Linked DNA regions of Homo sapiens: regions 1 and 2 are each linked to region 3. Evidence: promoter capture Hi-C in 16 types of primary human blood cells and fetal thymus (Javierre and others, 2016). All regions are on one chromosome and are shown on one strand. The core of a region is centred on a gene start or on the middle of the fragment in contact, and the rest is flanking DNA. Distances in the headings are between cores, read along the strand shown. Region 1 holds the start of ITGB1-DT (ITGB1 divergent transcript). Region 2 holds the start of ITGB1 (integrin subunit beta 1). Region 3 holds the start of EPC1 (enhancer of polycomb 1).

Evidence for each region. The method cuts DNA at HindIII sites, captures the fragments that hold promoters and counts their contacts. A CHiCAGO score of 5 or more calls a contact.
Region 1: a fragment that was not itself captured here is called in contact with the fragment with the promoter of EPC1 in region 3 in 1 of 17 cell types (M0 macrophages); the score reaches 5.1 in M0 macrophages.
Region 2: a contact is called between a fragment that was not itself captured here and the fragment with the promoter of EPC1 in region 3, in 2 of 17 cell types (activated CD4 T cells and naive CD4 T cells). The highest score is 5.4, in activated CD4 T cells.

What each region holds. Positions count from the first base shown.
Region 1 is chr10:32,982,078-32,986,335 of GRCh38, reverse strand. ITGB1-DT (ITGB1 divergent transcript) reads right to left here and starts at 3,785. Exons shown (of 3, transcript NR_184020.1): 1 at 3,651-3,785; 2 at 579-713. The HindIII fragment of the contact is 2,296 bases long and covers 432-2,727 here.
Region 2 is chr10:32,955,438-32,960,010 of GRCh38, reverse strand. It overlaps ITGB1 (integrin subunit beta 1), which reads left to right and starts at 1,781. Exons shown (of 16, transcript NM_002211.4): 1 at 1,781-1,866. RefSeq lists an enhancer at 1,209-1,258 and silencers at 1,429-2,008, 2,079-2,528, 2,922-3,083. The HindIII fragment of the contact is 2,322 bases long and covers 485-2,806 here.
Region 3 is chr10:32,345,214-32,349,445 of GRCh38, reverse strand. It overlaps EPC1 (enhancer of polycomb 1), which reads left to right and starts at 2,288. Exons shown (of 14, transcript NM_001272004.3): 1 at 2,288-2,683. The coding sequence starts at 2,531. EPC1-AS1 (EPC1 antisense RNA 1) reads right to left here and starts at 2,082. Exons shown (of 2, transcript NR_104163.1): 1 at 1,971-2,082. RefSeq lists silencers at 1,698-1,827, 1,838-2,307, 2,978-3,257 and enhancers at 2,578-2,637, 2,658-2,757. The HindIII fragment of the contact is 3,163 bases long and covers 45-3,207 here.

The DNA.
Region 1 (4,258 bases), core at 330-2,829, 640 kb before region 3:
AACAGTGATCTAGGGCAAACCAAGACCTGCGAACAAAATCTGGCTGACTTCCCGTTTTTGAAAATAAAGTTTTATTGGAACACAGCCATGTTTATTTGCATACATATCATCCACAGCTGCTTTTGCAAGACAAAGGCAGTTGAGCAGTTGCAACAGAGATCACATGGTTTGCAAAGTCAAAGATATTTACAATTTGGTCCTTTGTAGAAAAAAATTGCCAATTCTTAATCTAGGGACTAAATAGAGGAAAAAGGAAATAGAAGCCCCTCTTTCTTGCAGTAATGTTAAAAATCACAATTTCTAAAATATAAATATTTTGCACCAGGTTGGAAAACAGGCATTCAGCCTAATACTCATTAAAGCCTTACACTTAAAGGTCACTCTGTGGTCAGTATTCTTTGCTGCTGGATGACAGGAAGTGTGAGTAAGCTTTCTTTCTCTGCGAATGAACAACTTGCTGTGTCCAGATTTGTTTTGTAAGGACAAACAATATGATGCAAAAAGCAATGACATACAAATAACAAAATGATGTAAACCCTTTCCACAAATTGTTGGATGGGTTTTTAGACCAACCTGACCTTCATTCCACTTTTACTTTGAGAAGCTGCCTCTTTGGGGCTTCAGGTTTTGCTGCAGAGGTCACAGGAGGTGGGCAGTGGTATGGTGGAGGCATGTTCCGCACTCCCCTCTTTCCAGCCTTGGGAAGCTGTCTCCTAAGGTGGAAAAAGATGCTTCAATACCTCTTGTACAGTCTACACCTTCCTTCACCCGAGGCACAGTCAAGCCTTTTGCTGGTTTCACTCCATTCCTTTCTAGCTACCTAAGGCAATAAATTTCCATTTTTGCTTAAGTACTTCGAGTTGGGTTCCTGTCACTTACAATCACAACAGCTTTTTGTCAGAATCCTTTCTTTGGCTCTGATGTTCTGATTTTCACTTCCAGTAAGCTCATCTGTGAGAGGTGTTGCACACGACATTTAATGCCAGCTGTACATTAAAATCACAGGTCCAATATTTATTACTTCTGTGCACGTTTGAGCTTCACTTCTTACCTCTACAAAATGAAGATAATACTACCTACTTTCACAATTGTGATGATGAAAGGAGATGACGTATTTGTAAAGCATCATGCATGGAAGAGACAATAAATATTGTGGCTTTTTTTTTTTTTTTTTTGTGATACAGTCTTGCTCTCATTGCCCAGGCTGGAGTGCAATGGTGCGATCTTGGCTCACTGCAACCTCCGCCTCCCATGTTCAAGCAATTCTCCTGCCTCAGCCTCCCGAGTAGCTGGGATTACAGGCATCCGCCACCACGCCTGGCTAATTTTTTATATTTTAGTGGATACGGGGATTTGCCATGTTGGTCAGGCTGGTCCCGAACTCCTGACCTCGTGATCTGCCCACCTTGGCCTCCCAAAGTGGTGGGATTACAGGCATGAGCCACCAAGCCTGGCCTAAATATTGTAAATATGGCCTTTCAGTCCTCCCCTACCAAACACAAACAATGGATCGAGAGGTCCTAAGCCTCACCTCTTCCTACTCATCCTACGCATACTCAGTCTTCTAGAATTGATTCAATTGCTCCTTGTTTGTGTAGCCTCACCAGCCCAGCCACCACTTTATTAAGCTCTAGATGTCAATTCTCAATGATTCTACAATCCTCTGAGATTAGCACTCATACCTTTTATAGCCCTCAAACCAGTTTTTAAGAACAACTTTCAGGGCTGGGTACCGTGGCTCACGCCTGTAATCCCAGCACTTTGGGAAGCTGAGGAGGACGAATCCCTTGAGGCCAGGAGTTTGAGACCAGCCTGGGCAACATGGCAAAATCCTGTCTCTACTTAAAAATACAAAAATTAGCTGGGTGTGGTGGCACGCACGTAATCCCAGCTACTCAGGAGGCTAAGGCATGAGAATCACTTGAACCAGGGAGGTGGAGGTTGCAGTGAGTCCAGGTTGAGCAACAGCACTCCAGCCTGGGCAACAGAGCAAGACTCTGTCTCAAAACAAACAACTTTCCACTTTGTTCATAATAGCAATATATGTTCATTACAGAAAATTTAGAAAATAGAGAAATACAAAGATGAATATACAGTAAAGGCATAAATCAGCTATATTCCCAATCCTACAACCCAGAAATAATTCATTCTTTCTCTCTCTCCCCTCCCCCCAATTTCTCTCTCTCTCTTATTCTACATGTATCCCATTAGTATACTTCTAGTGGTAATTAAGAGAAAACCTGGACTCAATATGCAATTGGTTTAAACTATAAGAAAAAATTAGCTCACATAATAAGTTTGGAAATAAGATGAGTTATTTAGCTGGACAACTCATCAAAAGTCAGTCTTCAGTTACTCAACAAGGAACTAGAATTGAGACAATTTTAATATTCCTTAAATGCTTTTATGAAGACAAAATGAAAATCAGTCAACAATATCTAAATAGTTAAAAGAAGCGAGTAAATCCAGCAAATCAGCCGTAGTGGAAACTGATTTGCAGTGGGTGGGTGTTTGTTGAACTGGCTCTTGGTCACTGACCTGCAGCCTCCAAGGCTAATAAGTCAACAGATCAGCAGATCAATCAGCTGGGGCCTTTGCATTTTTCCACATTCCCAGGCCTGTCAGCTCAGCCTCAGGCCTGGCTGCATGGTGGCTTTATCACATGTAGAGTCTAACATTTAATGGAAGCATGACTTTGTTTCCTGCTTTTAAAGATAGAGGGAAGCTTTTCCTAACATTTAATGGAAGCATGACTTTGTTTCCTGCTTTTAAAGATAGAGGAAAGCTTTTCCAGAAGCCTCTCCACTCTCATCCACCTCACTGGCCTGGAATGAATTATACTCCCCGGACTCAGAAGATCACTAGCCAGGGGAATTCACATTCACCACTCACTGATGATTCACTCCCCAGGGCAGGGCTGGTGACTGCCTCCCCTGAAGCACACTGCTGTGCAGAGAATAGAAAGCCCACCAAAATTAAGAGGTGTTAGGAAGGAGAAGGGAAGTGGTGTGGGTAGGAAGTCAACAGTTTCTGCCACCATATCTTTTTGACTTAAATTTAAATTTCTCCATGTCCATATATAGTTTTTGAAAACATGATTTTATCTGAAAACATAATTGCATGAAAGCATCAAGTTTATTTAACAAGTTCCCTACTGTTAGGCATTTAAGGCAATTCAATTTTTCACTATCATCAACCACTTAGAATTTTGCCCTAAAACTGCCAAATTAATGTCCCTAAATCCATTGACTTGAGTCATGCTGTTTCTCTTACTGAATAAGTATTAACATTTACGGTTGAAGATGACTTTAACTTTGCTTATATGTCATCAGTGAATCAATACATGAATTTTCAAGAAATGCTAGATTTGTCCAATACATACATATGTCCTTTTCCAATCTTTATTATTAGCTTTTATGTCTCCTCACTTTCCCCCTGTCTAGAAGAGCTCTTGGCAAATTCATTTCAAGAAACCTTTGCTGATAATTTTGCCAGGTCCTATAAGGACCCAATCTCTGCCTTCAGGAGCTTATAATTTAGTAGTTTTTCTTGAATTAGCTCTCAGTAGGCAGATCACTTAAGGCCAGGAGTTCGAGACCAGTCTGACCAACATGGCAAAACCCTGTCTGTAATAAAAATACAAAAATTACCTGGGCGTGGTGGCGCATGCCTTTAATCCCAGCTACTCGGGAGGCTGAGGCACAAGAATCGCTTGCATCTGGGAGGTGGAGGTTGCAGTGAGCCAAGATCGCACCACTGCATTCCAGCCTGGGTGACTACAGAGTGAGATTCTGTCTCAAAAAAATAAACAAAAAAACCCACAAAACTCTCAGTAGATAAAGATACGTAGACGACCAGGACTGTCTGATTCATACATCTGTTTAATATTTACTGAATATCTATTATGTGCCAGGCCCAGATCTAGAATCCAGGGATGGCCAGGCACGGTGACTCATGCTTGTACCCCCAGAATTTTGGGAGGCCAAGGTGAGAGGATCACTTGAACCTAGGAGTTCGAGGCAGCAGTGTGCTGTGATCATGCCACTGCACTCCAGCCTAGGAGACAGAGCAAGACCCTATCTCAAAAAAATAAAACAGACTAGAATCCAGGGGTGCAATGCTTTTAGGGAACTTAGTAATATTCTTAGGTAGTGAGAAAGAAGCCCAAGTGAATCTTTCAAGTTGTTCTTCCTACCTTTTATTCTCAAGCCCTTTGTCACTTAGAAAGGAAACATCTGGTCTTTTCTGCCCTTATCTG
Region 2 (4,573 bases), core at 396-2,895, 610 kb before region 3:
AAAACTCATGACTTCTGTACACAAATTGCTACCTCACACATCAGTTTAGTCAAGTGCTCTAGCCCAGTCCTGGGAGAGCAAAAGGACCCATTTATTCATTTATCAGATATTATCTGAGCCCCTATTATCTGTCCTTGCAACAGTGCTTGACGGTGGTGTTAAAAAGCTCAGTAAATTGTCCTGGAGGAACTAATTTAGTTTAGAGTTGTGCATATGTAAATCTCATAATGTTCTTGTAGCAAAGACTAGCTAGTGCCTCCACCAGTCACGTACAGGGAAAAAAATTCTGGAAATTGTAGTGCAAATCAGGCACGGACCAATTATGCTTTTGAACTATACAGTTTTCTGTGCTGAGACTGGGCCAATTCTGATGAATTCTGAACAATGGTAAAACCGATACCTTTAAAATTCAAGAATGTTGAGTTCTAATGGCAGTTTGACCATTGAGATATTAATATAGGAACATCATTTAGCCTCTTAAGCTTGAACATCCATTAAGTGGGAAAAATAGTGCTCATTTCCTAGAGGTCTTCAGATTGGCTAATCAAGTTTTGATTTTGCTGGTAAGTAATGAGCAAATTTTCTTAGATGTGATCGCTTCATTTTCTCTTATATTGATTGGCAGCAGCCAAATGGGCATTCCAGTCCCTAATCTCCTGCAAGAGAAACACTTCTATTTCATAAATCTGGTAATTTTTGAGCTCTTTTCCCAACAGGGTGCTGCAGCTCACCAAGCGGAACCCACAGCATTTTCTGCTACCAGGATAGCAGCTTGCCAGTAGCATATACTAAATTACTGGGTTTCAGTATGATTTTGGCTGGTACAGACTTCAATCATCGAATCGACATGCGTTCAGCCATTCTCATAATGAATGTTTCCTTCTCTTTCAAACGTTGTTTCCAGCCCCAATCTCCAAATTTTTTTTTTTTAAGAGGTGAAACAGAAACTGTACTCCTTAGGAAGAAACTTTTCCTTCTCATCCCTGTTCCCCATAAAGGTACCTCCAGATAAATCTATCAAAAGCAGGACGCAACTCACCAGGTTTTCTAAAACGTTCCCCAGTCTCACCACCCTTCGTGACACCCATGGGTTTCCCAATTCTTCACCTTTCTCTTAGACACAGGCAAGCACATTATCACTCCAGAAAAGCAGTCCTGGCTTAGCCAGTTCCCTTCCAGAAGGACCACGTGGTTTTTGGCCCCATGGAGCCCTGCAGGGTAGGGGGGCTCACGGTCCCGATTTGCCTCGGGACTCAGGGGGCTTCCGAGATGCAGGATCTCCCGGGCTCGAAACGGGACATCAGTGGACAAACGGGAGCGAGGGTCGAACGCGCGGCTCCGAGGAAGAGGAACTTAAAGAACACGGGCCCAGCAGGCTACACCAGGAACGCGCGGGGCTCTAGGGCGCGTCCGACTCCTCCCGCCCTTCGCAGAGGAGGAAACTGAGGCACGGCGACTGTCTCAACGCAGTCCCGGCCCTGCCCCCCGCGGCCTCCCTCAGGCGCGCTCCCGCGCAGCCGGTTCCTTTGTCCCGGTCGCACTTCCTGCCCCATCCTCCGCCTCCTCCTAGCCCCGGGCCGGGCTGACGCGGCGGGAGAGGAATGCGTTTCCGGAGGGAGAGGGCGGCGGCGGCCTCGGGAGCGGGATCAGACGCGCAGAGGAGGCGGGGCCGCGGCTGGTTTCCTGCCGGGGGGCGGCTCTGGGCCGCCGAGTCCCCTCCTCCCGCCCCTGAGGAGGAGGAGCCGCCGCCACCCGCCGCGCCCGACACCCGGGAGGCCCCGCCAGCCCGCGGGAGAGGCCCAGCGGGAGTCGCGGAACAGCAGGCCCGAGCCCACCGCGCCGGGCCCCGGACGCCGCGCGGAAAAGGTAGGGGCCGGCGGGCCTCGGGTGTGGGAGCGCGGGCCGCGGCCTCCGGTCTCCTGTGCGCGGCAGCACTTAAAGCCGCCGGCCGGGCCGCGCCGGGACCTTTGTGCCGGGCGTGGGGGTGGGGGCGGGGGCGGGGGCGGGGGCGGCCGCCAGCGGTTGGGGGCTGGGGCAGGATTCCAGGCTAGTCCAGGAGGAAGTCCGCACGCCGCCACCCGCCTCGGGTCCCCGGCGCTGGCAGCCCCCGGGCGCAGAGCCAGCCCAGCCGCGTTCCGAACGTGAGGGTCGCCGGCCTGGGCGCTGTCACGTCGGGGCTGCCGGAGCTGCGGGGGACCGGGCCCGAACGGCCCCTGACACCTGCGGTCTCCCGCCGGGCTGGGCAAGCGCAGGTGGGAGCCAGCGAGGCCACCCGGGGCTCGGCGTTTGGGACTCGGCGCTCCCCTGGACGGGTCCGGTGCCTTTGTCTCTCGCTCCCTCGCGAGCTGCTGTCCTTGGAGCAGCGTCGAGCCAGCCGTCGGCGCCCGCGACGGGGACTGGTCTCCTCCGGCTGCCAGGAGGCGGCCCTGGGGCCAGCGCCGCGGGCGGGGGCGGCGGGAGCCGGGTAGAAGTTGGCTTAGTGGAGCCGCTGGGGACCGGGGGTGCGGTGGCGGCAGTGCAGTCCACTTCCCCGTGTTTATAAACGTCAAGAGTCGCCGGTCCCTGCCGGGCACCCCGGGACCAGGACGCATGGCCATGGCCAGCTTGTGCTCAGACCCGGTCCGCGAGCCTGAGAGCCCGGCCTGTGTCTAGTATCATTTTACCGCGTGTCATTTCTTAGGCTTCATAAATTGGATTTATGAGACTCCTACTCTCTAAGTAACTTTTATTTAATCAAATTCGTGCTTTTGAGTCCAAAACTTTGCACTCATTGGTATGATCATTAGTAAGTTGCATTCTCTAAGCTTCCGTTTCCTCATCTGTGAAATAGGAACAGTAATATCTACATTAATAATTCATTTTTATAATAATGACAGTGAGGGCCAAGTTTAGCTCTAGGCATTTTACATGTATTATTTAATTCTGGAACCGCTCTAATGAGATTGGTACTGTTTCGATTCCCATTTTCCGAGTGAAGAAACTGAGGCACAGGGAGCAAAAGTAAGTTGCCTGTGGTCATCAGGAGCTCCTGGAGAAGGCATGGGGTCTAGTTCCAGAGTCCGCGTTTAAACCACAAGTAACCTTCCTAACTATAGTTCTGAAAATCAAATGCAAAATGTAAAAAACTTAGCTTGAGAGTAGATGCTCAATGAGTATTGACTCCTTTTCAGCCCTTCTTTTATAGTAAAAAGATGTTAAAAATATCTCGGAAGATAATTGGTAACATCATTGGTAAGGTTTCTTTGGGCCAACATGCCACATGGTTAACTTAGGTGGGTAGAATTACTAGGTTATTTCGTTTTGTTTTGAGACAGGGTCTCTGTTGCCCAGGCTGGAGTGCAGAAGAGCCATCACAGCTCACTGCAGCCTCAACCTCCGAGGCTTAAGTTACTTTTCCACCTCAGCCTCTTGAGTAGCTGGGACTACAGGCGCCTGCCACCGTGCCCGGCTAATTTTTTTATTTTTTGTAGAGACAGGATTTCACTATGCTGCCCAGGCTGGCCTCAAACTCCTGGGCTCAAGCTGTCCTCTCTCACCGAGCTCCCAAAGTGCTGGGATTACAGGCGTGAGCCCCTGAACCTGGCCCTTAGGTTTTTTTATTTTTTTTTTTTTAATTGTAGTTTTAATGCTACAAAAATAACATGCTAGAGGAATTTAGATTAGACACCTTTCTTAAACCACATACGTCCTTTACGATAGGTTATACAGTAGACCAATTTTAGAAATGATTAAGGAACTTCAGTTGGCAGTTACCTGTTCATTTGTGGACATCAAGGCCCAGAGGGGTTAGGACTTAGAGTCTCACTATAATTCTCATATTTTTAAATAATGTTGACTCATTGATCAATATTATATAAGTGACTGAAGATGGTGAAGTGTTAAATAAAAAACATTGGTATTTTCATTACAGGCATTTGGGGAGAAAGTCATTTTACTTATCCCAAAATTGAGTATGAAGGTGGAAGATGTTATTAGAATGCTAGTTAAAAGGACAAAGAATGTGGTTAATACTTTAATTCTGTAAACAGGAAGCAAATAGATTGTTTAACTCGTCTGTGTTGACTTCAGACCTAAACCTACAATTTTAAGTGTTTGTGATTTTCTTAATGTAAAGTTCTATATTAAAGTTATTTTTTAATACCCTCAACATTCTGCACATGAGAAGCATGGAATCAGCAATTCTGAAAGTCACTGGATTTAGTAATTTTAACAATTAGGCAGCTTTCTGGTCAGTATAATTTAATTTAAATCAGCCCCGAATTACCATCACGAATGAAAATGTAGCTCTACATTGGTGTTCTTCCTAACTCTGGGAGTGACACTGGGGACATCTGGTCATATTATAATAATGAAAAGTGGTCAAACAACTTAACATGGTGCCAGTTTTCCTAAGCGTGCTTGCCACTGATTGTAATGCTTTTATTGTTTGGCTTCTTGATAAGTAAGTTATGGCTTACAGCGGTGAGTAGTATAGTGTTCTGTCTGAAAACATATTCATTAATATTCTGTAGCTGCTCTGGTTTGCCCTTAACTATGCTGCTAGTGTGATAAGCTGAAACATCTTGTAACTGGT
Region 3 (4,232 bases), core at 1,039-3,538:
GGCATATAATATTATCTGCCAAAAGGCAAGTGAATCTGTAAGCTTATCTGTGAATTTGCCACGGAGGGTGATTTTAGACTCTCTAGAGAATAAGAAATTTTTTTGTACTCCACCCATTATTACTAATGTAGGATGTGGAAATAGTTATTTTGTTGTTTACTGTTATTTTAATGAGGGTAGAAATAATTCATTTCCTTGGTTCACTCTTGACTTACTCTATTTTGTTCTTAAAATCTTAGGCTCCTCAATTATGAATTCTACTGCTAGGACTTTCAGGAACCTAATGTTGTAGGCTGGAGAGGGCTGTCAGAATAATATTCAGCCAGTATTTTCGGAACTGTTAAACCTGGCTAAACAGGTGTCATTCCACAGTGAAGTTGGCAATTCTTGAGGCTCCCAGAAAGTGACTGCTATCTAATGACTCAGCTTGTGGATACGTCGCTACCGTTGTCTTAAGATACCTTTCTTCCCTTCATTTTTACTTTTTTTGCAAAGTTAACCCACACTTATCCTACATAATTTTACTCAGATATCATCTCTTCCAAAAAGTCTTCCCTTGCTACTTCATTAGAACTACTCTCCTGGGTTGGGCGCCACTCTTGCCCCTTCCCACAGTGGCCTGGGCTTCCACCATAACACTTAGCTCGCCGTGTGGCAGTTGCCATTCGCGGGTCCTTCTCCCCACTGTGTAAGCTCCTCCAGGAGCCCTGTGGGTGCCAAGCTGACTTGGAAGGCTATGAGGGCTCAATACACACCCTCAATACTCATTGAATGAATAAAGGCACGGTCTCTGTGTAGGAAATGCAGGTGAACGTCCTTATGCCTCACTTAAGTGAGCTGCCAATATCGGAGTTTAAGTATAATTTTGGAGAACTGCAATCCGTCCTGTTTTCTCCCTACCCCGCGGGAGCTGGCTAAACCAGCCTGGAGGCTAGCAGTTTGCCTGTGTGCCCTAAGCTAGTGACAGCTCATATCAAGCCCAGTATTTAAGGAGCGTGATTACTTTTACTACGTAGTTCCCAGGGAGAAAAGCAACTCAAAACATTTTTGTATCTTTTTGTATCTTGTTGCACAAGATACAAAATTGTGCACTAAGATACAAATTGAAACTCGAATTGAAATTTGGCTGCCAATTTATTAAACCCACCCCAACAATCTTCCCTATTAACAACAACAACAACGAAGAGATCTCAGGATACCCATTTTCATGTGTAATATAAACCGATGCCACCCATCTATCATATCCATCTAAATCTAATAATTCAGCTTTTTGTTTGGCGGGAGTACGACAGGTCTTTATATGATTCAATGTTACAAAGTTTTTCAGAGGACAAATGATGAAAGTGTGAACCCACGGCTATGATGAAGCCGCAGTCTCTTTGAGTACAGAATCATGAGCTAGATATAAAGAACTGGCTTTAAATTCTGAAGTAGATCTTGCTTTTAAATGTTATAGTGGTGGGTAATAATTTCCTTTGCTTCAGTTACTATTTAAAAAGTAAATATGTGTAGATGAAAATGCAGGATTTAAAAAAATCTACTTTGTAGAATAGGATACCTATCATTTATATTAAGCCCAATGCGTGGGAAACGGATCAATGACTTGATGCGGTGCCTATAAAACATTATAATCCAAAGTTGCATTAGGACATAAAAATAACTGCTGATAAAAGTTTACTCAAAGTAGCATCTGCCCCTAATTCAGTTTGTATTTTTATCGTAAAGACCTAAGGCGCCGCGGGAACTAGGCTGTGCGTTCGCCCCCCGCGGCAGACGGCGGCGCGCGGCGCCTCTGGAGCGCCCCTCCGAAGCCCCGTGGGGGCGGCCGTGGCCCCGGGGCAGCCGCTGGCGAGCACCCCAGAGGTCCGAGCCCTCCGAGCCCCAGGTGCCCGGGGCCCGAGCCCCGCCTGCCACTCTCCCCAGCTGCCTTTCCAAACGGCGGCGTGCTGGTGGAGAGAGTTTTCCCGCACCTTGTTCGCCCGTCAGAAAGCGGCGCCGGGAGGGAGCGAGCGTGAGAAAGTGAGCGTGTGCGCTGCAGGAGAGCACGACCCAAGAGCCGGCGCCCGGTGTCCGAGCGCCCAGTCCGCCCTGTCCGCCCCCGGACCCGCGAAGGGCGGGGGCCCGGAGCAGCGAGGCGCGGGAAGCGAGGCCGGCGGGTGCCGGGGGTTGGCGGGACGCGCGCTTCGTGCCGGCGCCGGCCTCGAGCCCGCGCTCCCTCCCCCCGCCCGCGTGCCCGCGCCGCTGCGCGATGCAGTGTGGGGAATGGCTGGGGTTGGCTGAAGAGCGCACAGTGGAGTTTTAATGTCCGCCATGTTGGCCATGGCGTATTGAAGAGAGCGAGCGAGAGAGGAGCGGAGCGGCACAGCCTCCCACCCTCCCGGCTGGTGTTAGTGCCCGGACGGCGGGCTCTGCGCTCCGCCCCTCAAGTCCCCGGCAGCGGTTGGCGAGTGGGGACCGAACCCCCGGTTCTCCATGATCCCGCTGGCCGGGGCCGTTTCCCCAGAGCGGAGAGGTATCTGCTGCGCCTGAGATGAGTAAACTGTCGTTTCGGGCGCGGGCGCTAGACGCCTCGAAGCCGCTGCCGGTTTTCCGCTGTGAGGATCTGCCCGACCTGCACGAATACGCCTCGATAAACAGGGCCGTGCCGCAGATGCCCACCGGAATGGAGAAGGAAGAGGAGTCGGTACGTGTTAACTCCCCTGTCCGACCCACCGTCAGGCCCGCTCCCTCTGCTGCCTGCGGCGGCGGCGGAGCAGCAAACCCACACAAAATGGCCGCCATCTTCTCTTCGCCGCCGACTCTCAGTCGCCGGCCGGGCCTATACCCCGCCTCCCCCAGCCTCGACCCCCGGCCGCCGCGGCCCAGCGGGGCCCCTTCTAAGGCCACCCGCTGACCCTGGCCACTTGTACCCGGGTCCCGCGGAGTTCGGGGGCCCGAAAGGCACAAAGGGGTCACGTGACGAAGCTGCCGGCAGCCATTTTGTGTCTTAGTTCTTGGGTTGGGCCTTGTGCATCCGGAGAGGGGAACGGGCTGGGTGGCTGTGGGGGTGCGGCGAGTCGGGAGCCGTGGAGGACCCGCCTACAGGCCTCTCCGTGGGCCGCTGGGTGGCGCTCCAGGGCCACTGCGGCCTGCGCGCCGCTGCCCGGGCCGGGAGCGCAGGTTCTGTGCACAGTCGGGGAATTTGATTGCCCCATGGTCTGGGAAGCTTGTTGGGCTCAGTGCAGCCCCCACGTGGAGCCTCAGACGGGCATGTCATGTCGCCTGCTGCTCTATGAGGCTTTTCTCCCCCTCTGCAAGGAAATGTCGAGGGTGCAGCGTGTTTGCCCGGACGACTTACTTTTCTAGAAGATAAGACTTACTTTCAGTGTCCTCTTTCTGGGACGTTTGTATCCATCCCTCTCCAGAGCTAGTTGGTCGGAGGATAATAAACCACTATCCCTGACTTTTTCTGTGATCCTTGCGAATATCTTGCAGATTTGTTTGGAGTACCTCTCTCTTCTGAAGCCTGTAACCTTACCTATTTGTAAAATAAATTTAAGTTCTCCTGCTCTCTGGTATCTCAACATAGGGGGAGAAAAGACCCAATTTAAGTAACTTTTATAGATCTAAATTTCGAAGGAGGATCCTTTCTTATTCAAAACCGAACTAAAACTAAGTGACTTGATTCACAGAAATCTTAATATTGAGATGTCTAAATTGGGTGGGTTTCAGCACGTAAATGTTGACAACTAATAGACATTTTACCATCGCTGTGGCTTTACCTTGTTGTGGAAGTTGGGTTCGGACACCAGGATAATAGAATCTTCCTCTCATTTCCCCCAGATCCTTGACAGTATAACTTGATGACTTCTAATCCTAAGGAATTGCATACCTTGGTTTTCAGGTACAGCCATTTAAACAGGGTGCAGTGTATTGACAGTTCAAGGAAGTCCAGGAGTCGCGTGGATTTGTGTGCTACAATTTTGTTGTGGAAAATTGTACTGTAATACTTCTCTTGGTACTGTAAGAATTTTTAATGTAGAAATTATGCTCTGTAATGTTGTTTTTGGAAATAAAACTGTTTAAACTCTTTGGGTTGTTTAACCTTTTAAAGTGAAATAGCTGTGACAGTGAAATGTTACTTTTGAGAGTAGTGTCTTAAATCTAACTTTACAGATAAGCCAAGTGTATGTAGTAGCTCAGATTGTCTAGTTGGGCACTGACTTTCAGCACATTGTCTCATGAGACACTAC